Linked DNA regions of Homo sapiens: region 1 is linked to region 2. The links are contacts of gene promoters, found by promoter capture Hi-C in human tissues and cell types (Jung and others, 2019). All regions are on one chromosome and are shown on one strand. The core of a region is centred on a gene start or on the middle of the fragment in contact, and the rest is flanking DNA. Distances in the headings are between cores, read along the strand shown. Region 1 overlaps CBFB (core-binding factor subunit beta). Region 2 holds the start of CA7 (carbonic anhydrase 7).

Region 1 (4,649 bases), core at 1,288-3,787, 200 kb after region 2:
CCCAGTTTATGACTTTAAAGATAAGGGGTATGAAAATCATTTCATAAAAGGAAAAAAATGAACTTTACAGTGCTACTGTTCATTTTTTTCTGTGGAAATTGAATATGCTATCTCGTTTTTACCACATTGACCTCAGAAAAAGAGAGGTTAAACTTTTCTATGGTTGTTACATTCTTGTTTATAGCTTATGATTTTAATTGATAGTCAAATACATTAATGTCAGACATCGAGAAGTATTTATTAAGTATATGTCATTAGAGTAGCTACTTTTAAAAATTTTGATAAGTTGTATTTTTTTTCTTTCTGGACTTTATACTTAAAAGTCTTTTAATTTATTTTTATGAGCATAAAATAAAGCAAAATCTAACAAGATTGGATTTAATGAGTGAGGACAGAATTTTATTTTAAATGGCCTTTTCTAATAAAGGTCTATGATTCTGCTTCTTCTGGTACCATTTACGCACTTGCCTGCAGGATCTTTGTCCCAAAATACATATTGTGTTTGTTTATATACCATCCACAATTTGGCAGAGTTTACAGGACTTCTTGATGTTAGCTTTGAGAAATCCCTATTTAAGCTCAAGAAGTTCCTTCTCTGTAGATAGCCCAGTCATTCCAAATAAAAGATCTCTATGGTAAAGCTTTGGAGTGTGATTTTCTTCAAGAGAAATTAGACAACTTTACAAATACCTTGTCACATCTGGATTTTAAGTATTTCAGTTCGACTAAAATATGAATTGACAGCACTTAGTTATTGACAGTTTAGTGTATTGAAATCTGGTTTTTAAAAATATGCTTTAGATAAACTATAATACTCTAATAATAACGGAATCATAAAATTTAGAACTGGTAACTGCAAGCTTATATATATATATATATTTGACACCTTTGTAGCTGGCAGAGCGTTTGTATTTTTAAAGAAAAGTTTTTATTTTAGTTATTTTAGTTATTTTTCAATCTAAGAGAGGAAGTCGACTTTCTGAAAAAATTAAAATGTTTTGGCTAGGTGGGGTGGTTCATGCCTGTAATCCCAGCACTTTGGGAGGCCGAGGCAGGTGGATCACCTGAGGTCAGGAGTTCGAGACCAGACTGGCCAACGTGATGAAACCCCACCTCTACTAAAAATACAAAAAATTAGCCAGGTATGCTGGCATGTGCCTGTAATCCCAGCTACTTGGGAGACTGAGGCAGGAGAATTGCTTGAACCCGGGAGGCGGAGGTTGCAGTGGGCTGAGATTGTACCACAACACTCCAGCCTGGGCAACAGAGCAAGACTCTGTCTGAAAAAAAAAAAATTAAAATGTTTTAAAATTAGTATGTCATAGTACCTTCCAGTTAGAGTACGTGAATCTGCATACATGGTAAATGCACCTCTGAAGCACTTGAAGATTGTGAAGTCCCGTTTTCTCTTCTTTTGGATTGCATTATTTCCATTTTAGTGTAAAGGTGAAATTCTCTTTCATGACCTTTCCTGAATTACATATTCCAAGTGAGAGAAGGCAGAAATAATATGTCTGAGAAGAGCATCCTTCACTCTTCCCCTCCTTCCTTCTACTTTCTACATTTTTTTTTTTTTTTTTGAGACAGTGTCTTGCTCTGTCATCCAGGCTGGAGTGCAGTGATGTAATCTTGGCTCACTGCAACCTCCGCCTCCCAGGTTCAAGCGATTCTCCTGCCTCAGCCTCCCAAGTAGCTGGGATTACAGGCACCCGCCACCACACCTGGCTAATTTTTGTGTTTTTATTGGAGATGGGGTTTCACCATTTTGGCCAGGCTGGTCTCAAACTCCTGACCTCAGGTGATCCGCCTGTCTTGGCCTCCCAAAGTGTTGGGATTATAGGCGCTCTGAGCCACTGTGCCTGGCCTTTTTTGTTGTTGTTTGTTTGTTTTTGAAACTAGATATCTCTCTGTCACCCAGGCTGGAGTGCAGTGGTGTGATCTTGGCTTACTGCAACCTCTGCCTCCTGGGCTCAAGCGATCCTCCCACCTCAGCCTCCCAAGTAGCTGGAACCACAGGCACGCGCCACCATGCCCAGGTAATTTTTTTGTAGATATGGGGGTCTCACCATGTTGCCCAGGCTGGTCTCAAACTCCTGGACTCAAGCAATCCTCTCGCCTTGGCCTCTCAAAGTGCTGGGATTACAGGCATGTACCCATCATTTTTTTTTAATGGTTAATTCAAATGCTGCCAGGATAAAGACTATTGAAATGTTGTTGTCTGAAGATGTTAATTTCTTTGTAGCACTGCTATGCCCTAGTTTTACTATTTCCCATTTTCACTTGTAGTTTTTCAATCAGCATTATTGAGGTATAATTTACATGTAGTACAGTTCACCTATTTTAAGTGTACAAGTCTGTGACAACTGTGTATTCAGTAGTATAACCACCACCAAAGTTCACCATTGCTTCAAAAAGTTCCCTCATGCCCCCTTGCAGGTAGTGTTCTAATTGATGCAGACATACATGCACTGATACTTTTGTGATCCTCATCTTACAGGGAAGAAAACGTTTGTAATTTCTTTTTAACAGCATAAAAATGCTGTTTACCTTCAGGTGCAGAGACTTTGTTTCTTCAATATTATTCTTTGATGCTTAGTTTTGTACAGAGGATTGGAAGCTACAGACAAGCTAAAGTATAATAGTGATATGGTAGACTTTAATTATTGTTCCTTTTTTTATGAAAGTATGCACGTGAACAGTTGGAAAGTATTATCTGTTATAAGCTTTTCAGTTTAAGCTGGGCCTCCTCAAATTGATGTGTGTTTAGGAACTAAGAATTTTAAATAACATTTGAAGGGCCGGGCGCAGTAGCTCATACCTGTAATCCCAGCACTTTAGGAGGCCAAGGCAGGCAGATCACAAGGTCAGGAGTTCAAGACCAGCTTGGCCAACATAGTGAAACCCCGTCTCTACTAAAAAAAAAAAAAAATTAGCCAGGCATAAGCTGAGATCATGCCACTGCACTGTAGCCTGGGCAACACAGCAAGACTCTGTCTCAATAAATAAATACCATTTGAAATGTCTTCAATGCCATGTGTGGAAACTATTTAAAAAAATAAAACGTGCCTCTTGGCAGTATTGCTGTGCTTTCAGGACTCTAATGCAGGCTGTACCTAAGAGGGAAAGGGCTGAGTCTGGGGATGGTTGGCAGGTTGTTTTTGTGGATGAAAAACCTTTTACCCATGTATGCAGTCAGTACTGAGCCTTTTTGTGTTTTAAAACTTCAGATGTAAAGACAGGTTAATCTTCAGATTAAAACAAAAGGATGGCCTAGAAACTTGTGACTTCGACATTTACATTAGAAGAATGTAGATGTTTTCAAATAAACAAATCTGCCCATATCATAGATGTTCAAAGTTTGTTCCATATAATAACAATGATAGTTTCTAATAATCGTGTGGCCCTGTTTGCAGAACAGTGTTCTAAGTAATGAGCCATTTGGGAGAACCCTTTAAATTTTTTTTTTAGGATATTTATTCACACCAGCTTTTTAGTCCTGAGTTTCTATCCATCCCTTTGCTATCCAGAACATTTCTTGGCCATTTTTTTACTGGGTCAGGTGCCGTGGCTCGTGCCTTTGGTCCCAGTGCTCTGGAAGGCCAGGGCGGGTGGATCGCCTGGGGTTAGGAGTTCAAGACTAGCGTGGCCAGCATGGTGAAGCCCCGTCTCTACTAGGAATGCAAAAATTGGCTGGGCATGGTGGTGGGTGCCTCTGGTCCCAGCTGCTCGGGAGGCTAAGGCAGGAGAATCACTTGAACCTGGGAGGCAGAGGGTGCAGTGAGCCAAGATCGCGCCACTGCACTCCAGCCTGGGAACAAAATTCCATCTCAAAAAAAATAAAAATAAAAATGCAGAAATTGGTCAGGCGTGGTGTCGCATGCCTCTGGTTCCAGCTACTTGAGAGAGGCTGGGGTGGGAGAGTTGCTTGGGCCTGGGAGGCAAAGGTTGCAGTGAGCAGAGATCGCACCACGGCACTCCAGCCTGGGTGACAGAGCAAGGCTCCATCTCCAAACAAACAAATAACAAAAAAAACCCCTAAAACATTTTTTATTTTCCTTAAATGTATTGGCCAAGGTTAAAATATCCATCCTGAATATTCTGTATGAAAACATTGGATATGAAGAAAAAAAGAAAATTCAGGCAGTTGACCAGGGGAGAGAATTGAGCTTTTTGGTTCTTCCTGACACATATTCTCAGTGAGACTATACTCACTTTTTTAAAAGCTATTTATAAAATATTAAAATAAGATATTACATGAAGTTAAAAATTGAAACGAAAGTCAGCATCTTAATTCACCAATTACACAACTGAATGGTGTTTTTTGTTTGTTTGTTTGAGACAGAGTCTCGCTCTGTTGTCGAGGCTGGAGTGCAGTGGCATGATCTCAGCTCACTGCAAGCTCTGCCTCCCGGGTTCATGCCATTCTACTGCCTCAGCCTCCCGAGTAGCTGGGACTACAGGAGCCCGCCACCACGCCTGGCTAATTTTTTTGTATTTTTTTAGTAGAGACGGGTTTTCACCATGTTAGCCAGGATGGTCTCGATCTCTTGACCTTGTGAGCCACCGTGTCTAGCCTTTTTTTTTTTTTTCTTTTTTTTTTTTTTGAGATGGAGTTTCACTCTTGTTGTCCAGACTGGAGTGCAATGGCG
Region 2 (4,730 bases), core at 911-3,410:
TGAAGAGGAAATGGGTCAATGGAGTTTGGGCTATCCCCAGAGCTCTCTCCCAGGTAAAGGATGTTGGCAGCTCTCCCAGGTAAAGGGTGGCTGGCTTCTCTGGGAGACAGAAGGTCCAGGCCTCACCCAGAAGCATGCCTTTGTCTTCTTGATCTGTAGATGCCATTTCCAGCTTGGAGACCTGGGGCCTTGACAGTGTTGGATTCTCTGTCACATCTGGTCTTGGGGGCTACTTATCTCTGTCATAAGTCCCCTGCCCCACCCTAGGGTCATATTTATATTAAGGATCCCTTCCTGCTCCTGGATCAGAGAGGGCCATCTTCGCAGGCCTGGGCAGTCACTGACATTGGCCCACCCAACCAGTTATCAATTAATCTCCATAGCTCTATCTGAGGATCTGGGGTTCAGGGCCTGGGAGAGGGAAACTGAGACAGACACAGAGATGAAGGGGAGCCAGGCAGACAAGATGGCAGATTCCTGTACAAGGTCAGCCAAGAGCAGGGCCTGAAAGAGTGTCTCTATTCAAGATCTGGACAGCAGACATTGTACTAGTGGCTGTTCGACTCCTGCTGAGTACAGGACCCCGGGTGGGATCATTTATCTGTCCTTCCATCCACCCCTCTGTTTGTCTTTCCAAAACTGCCTGCTGAGGACTAGCCAGAGACAAGCCCTCTCCCTGGCACAAGGCCACGTGCTAAGATGAATCAGATTGGGCCGGCTGGAGCCAGTGGGTGGAAGACAGAGGACGCACCAGGTGGAGGGCACAACAACGACCAGGGCTCGTGGGTGGGAAAATACTGGGCCAAGGCAGGCACTGGGGTTGAGTGCAGGGTGGAGGGTCTGAGCTCCCAGGGGGTGTACTGAAGGTTATGGGGAGGTCAGGAGAGGAGGGACAAACAGCAGGCTATGGAGGGACAAAGCAGAGTCCCTGAAGAAAGGAGGAAGCAGTAGACAAAATAACAGGGAGGGTGGAAGTCAGAGCCTCAGACTTAGCTCCATGGGGAAGCCACCTGGTGTCTGCCTGTCTTCAGGCCCATTGGTTGATGCCACTCCTTCTCACTCCCCCTTGGGGGATCTGGTTCCACCTGGGCCAAGGGTTCACATTGCCATTCCTGTCCCTGCATCTACCCCAGGGTTCCCGGACCCCCACACTCACAGCACACCCTTGTACCCAGCACCAAGGAGAAATGGTAAAGACCCCAGTGTCAGGCCAGGAGTGGTGGCTCACTCCTCTAATCCCAACACTTTGGGAGGCCAAGGCGGGTGGATTACTTGAGGCCAGAAGTTCAAGACCAGCCCAGGCAACATGGTGAAACCCCCATCTCTACAAAAAACACAAAAATTAGCTGGATGTGGTGGCACACACCTGTAATCCCAGCTACTTGGAAGGCTGAAGCAGAAGAATCACTTGAATCAAGGAGGTGGAGGTTGCAGTGAGCTGATATAGCACCAGCCTGGGTGACAGAGCAAGACTCTGTCTAAAAACAAACAAGCAAACAAACAAACAAACAAACAAATCCCACAAAACCCCCAGTGTCTGGAGTAAGAACCCCAGCTAATGAACCCTTTACCCCCTGGCTAGATGACCTTGGGCAAGTCACTTCACTTCTCTGGGCCTCACTCCCCTCCTCTGTCAGATAGGGCTGATGGAAGCACCCAACCTTGTAGGGTAACAGAGAGGGTTATACCATAGGAAGGACCCAAAGCTTGGTCCAGCGCCTGCAACAGCCTCTGGCAAACAGTGGAAGCTCCAGTTTTGGACACTTGATGGTCAGTGTAGTTTGCAGTTTAAAGGGGACTTTCCAACCCCAAAAGATTCAGGACCCAGAGCTCAGGTCTCTGGTGGTGGCATTTGCAGGTCTGGGGCAAGCCTAGGGAAGGGACGCCATGTGCGGCACGGGCATCTAGTGTCCCAGAGTCCGCACGGGTTGCTGGGGGAAAAAGAGGGATAGTCGCCCAGCCAGGGCAGGGGTGGGAGTTGGGGGGAGAGGGTTACTTCCTCCTGCCCTGAATCTCCGCTCGGGGTTCAACTGGCTCGCCGGCGGGCGAGGGCGGGGCAGGCCGGCCTCTCTGGCCCTGCTGGGGGGTGGGGGGCGGGTCCCCCGGGAACTGCTCCTCCCGCCAGCCGCTGCTTTAAGAGGCTGCTCCGCGGTAGCGAGCGGGGCCGGAGCCGCAGCCCGAACGAGCGGACCGAGCCGACCGGGCAGGTGCACGGCTGCGGGGACGGCAGCGGCATGACCGGCCACCACGGCTGGGGCTACGGCCAGGACGACGGTAGGCACAGACCTCCCCCACCGCCTCTGGCTCGGACCCCCGACCCAACTGCACTCGCCCCAACCCTCTTGCCCAGCTGGTTTCCCAGACCGGAAAGCTCCCACACTCCAGGCTGGGCGGGACCCCTCTTCCCATCCCGGCCCCCGAACTTGGCCCAAGCCTTGGTCCCCCGCGCCAGACGCAAAGTCCGCGCTGCGCCCCGGGTGGCCCCGCCGCCAGCAAGCGACCTGGCGGCTGTGTCCTGCCGCCTCCTCCGCGAAGCCCCTGATTGCCCAGCCCGCTCAGACCCAGGCCCAGACTCTCACTCACTCGCCCCGGGCGTGCGCAGCGCGTGGGGGTGGCCCAGGGCAGCGGGGGGCGGGCGCCGCGGAGCGCTGTGCGCGGGTGTCTGCGGGGAGCGCGCACGGCAAGTGAGCGGGGACCTCGGGGGAGCGGGGCTCCGCGTGGCAAGGGCGCAGTGTCCCCCGGAGAGAATTTCCCCGCAGAAGTGGCCGAGCTGCCTTCTCGGCCGGTACGTGAGGGAAGGGGGCACTTGGGGGCGCAAGCATGTGTCTGGGTGTCTACACCGAGCAGGGTGTTTGCGCACGTCCGGGTGTGAGTCGTGGGAGCCCGTGGCCCACACCAGCCTCCTGGGCTGACGCGGAAGAGAGCTCCTTCATCCTGCCTCAGTTTCCTTAGGACTCAGAGAAAGGGAGAAGAGGCAGAAGGTGAGAGCCAGACGGCTGGAGTGTGGGTCTGGGGCAGTCAATTCCCTTTGGGGCCATTTCTTACCAAGCAGGGGTGGGGGTGTGGGGTAAGGGGTTCCCTATTTCCCTGGGGAGCCAGTGCAAGACAGGTGGGGTGCGGAGAAGAAAAAGTAATGATGGGAGGAACATCCCCCAGCCCCACTCCTCTGCGGAGAGGCAGTCACTTTGTGAGGTTGGGTGGGGGACCACAGTCTGGGAAGCCAGAAAGTTGCAGTAGACCAGAGGGAGGGTGCTGTGGAGTCTTTGGCTCCCTCTGGGGCCCCAAGAACAAAGGAGCATATTTTGGAAGAGAACCCCCAGATCTGGGTATGCAAGAGCTGGAAAGAGACATTCAGAAAAAGATGATATAGACAAGCAGAGAGGGAGAGACAGGCAGACATGGGGCAGATGGACAGGACCCATAGGGATCATCTTCTCCCAGCACCTGCTCTGAGCCACCTTTTGGGTGCTTCCCCCAGAGCCAGAGTCCCCTGCCTCCAGCTCTTCTTGCTAGTCATGCCCACCAGCTCTGAGCACCCAGTGTCCTGTGTAGCCTGCTCCATGGGCCTGCTCCCCCAAAGCAGCCACCCCATCACCCAGGCAGAGCTGGATTGTCCAGTCGAGGAAGGGAAGGACAGAGGACAGAGGTGCCGGCATGCAGCAGTGTTCACAGGGCTTCAAAAATAACCCAGAGGGGCCGGGCCACGATTCTGAGTCATCCATTGGGGACACGGCTCTGTCGGCACCTGCTGCTGTTTTCTCAGGAAAACTTAAGAAGCCAAAAAGGGGGAGAAGCACCAGCCGGCAGTAGCTCTAAAAATAGGCTGCATCTCAGGATGTTCCCCAGGGAGATGCTGAGCCTCTCGGCTGCAGATGGATCCTCTGGGAGGCAGGTGGTGGGCGCCTGTGGGTGTGTATGCAGGTGTGTGTGTGTGTGTGTGTGTGTGTGTGCATGGGCATGTGTTTTGCTGTGGTCCTTTATGCAAACTTGGGTCTCCAACAGAGGGGTTTGTGTGTGAGAGAGCATATGCGTGTGTCAGATGTAGTCTGCAGGGCTGTGTGTGTGTTTGTACACATGAATGTTCTGGGCCTGGCTGCTCTGTGTGCACAATGGAAGATCATAGAAAGATTAATGTGTTCATAGGAAGATCTCTATGGACTTGCAGGCACACACATTGGGAGGGCAGCTGGGGGCAGTGCATGCACATGCTGTATTTATATTAGTACATATGCATGCACACATGTGTGAGTGGCCCTCAGTTCCCTCATCTGTGAAATGGGGATCTTGCTGGTTTCTATTTCACAAGGTGGTTGTGAGAGGCAAATACATGTCACAGAGTCAAAGCTAGGTTGATGTGAGTTTTTGTTGTTATTTATCACAAACACCAACACCAAATTGCCCAAGGCACAGAAAGAGGTGAGATACTGATGGGGTCAGGTCAGAGACTTCAGATGTCTGGAGGTCTCCCTGTTGGGGAGACTTATTACTCTGAGCCACCCCGAGCCTGTAGCTGTTATGTTCCCTTCCATACAGTACCTCTCTGGGCCTCCTATCAGCACTGGAAGGTGAGTTTTAGTGAGACCATTTCACAGACAAAGAAATGGAGGCTGAAAGGGGAAATGGCAAAGCTGGGATTGGAACTCCAAGCTGTGCAGCTCCAATGCAGGGGCTCACCTCTGAAAGGATGCTGAAGAGACCATTCCCCTATGGGTGTCCTCGGCCTGAAGCCC

The links. The method cuts DNA at HindIII sites, captures the fragments that hold promoters and counts their contacts. A contact is called where the count stands out against the background at its distance.
Region 1: a contact is called between a fragment that was not itself captured here and the fragment with the promoter of CA7 in region 2, in 5 of the 25 tissues and cell types used here (adrenal gland, dorsolateral prefrontal cortex, heart left ventricle and 2 more).

What each region holds. Positions count from the first base shown.
Region 1 is chr16:67,044,234-67,048,882 of GRCh38, forward strand. All of the region lies in intron 3 of CBFB (core-binding factor subunit beta), which reads left to right. Among named protein-coding and RNA genes, the nearest start is that of CBFB, 17 kb to the left of the region's middle. The HindIII fragment of the contact is 7,078 bases long and covers 1-4,649 here.
Region 2 is chr16:66,842,254-66,846,983 of GRCh38, forward strand. CA7 (carbonic anhydrase 7) reads left to right here and starts at 2,161. Exons shown (of 7, transcript NM_005182.3): 1 at 2,161-2,274. The coding sequence starts at 2,235. The region is part of intron 3 of LOC124903699 (a long non-coding RNA gene); the gene reads right to left. RefSeq lists an enhancer at 2,089-2,590. The HindIII fragment of the contact is 13,624 bases long and covers 1-4,730 here.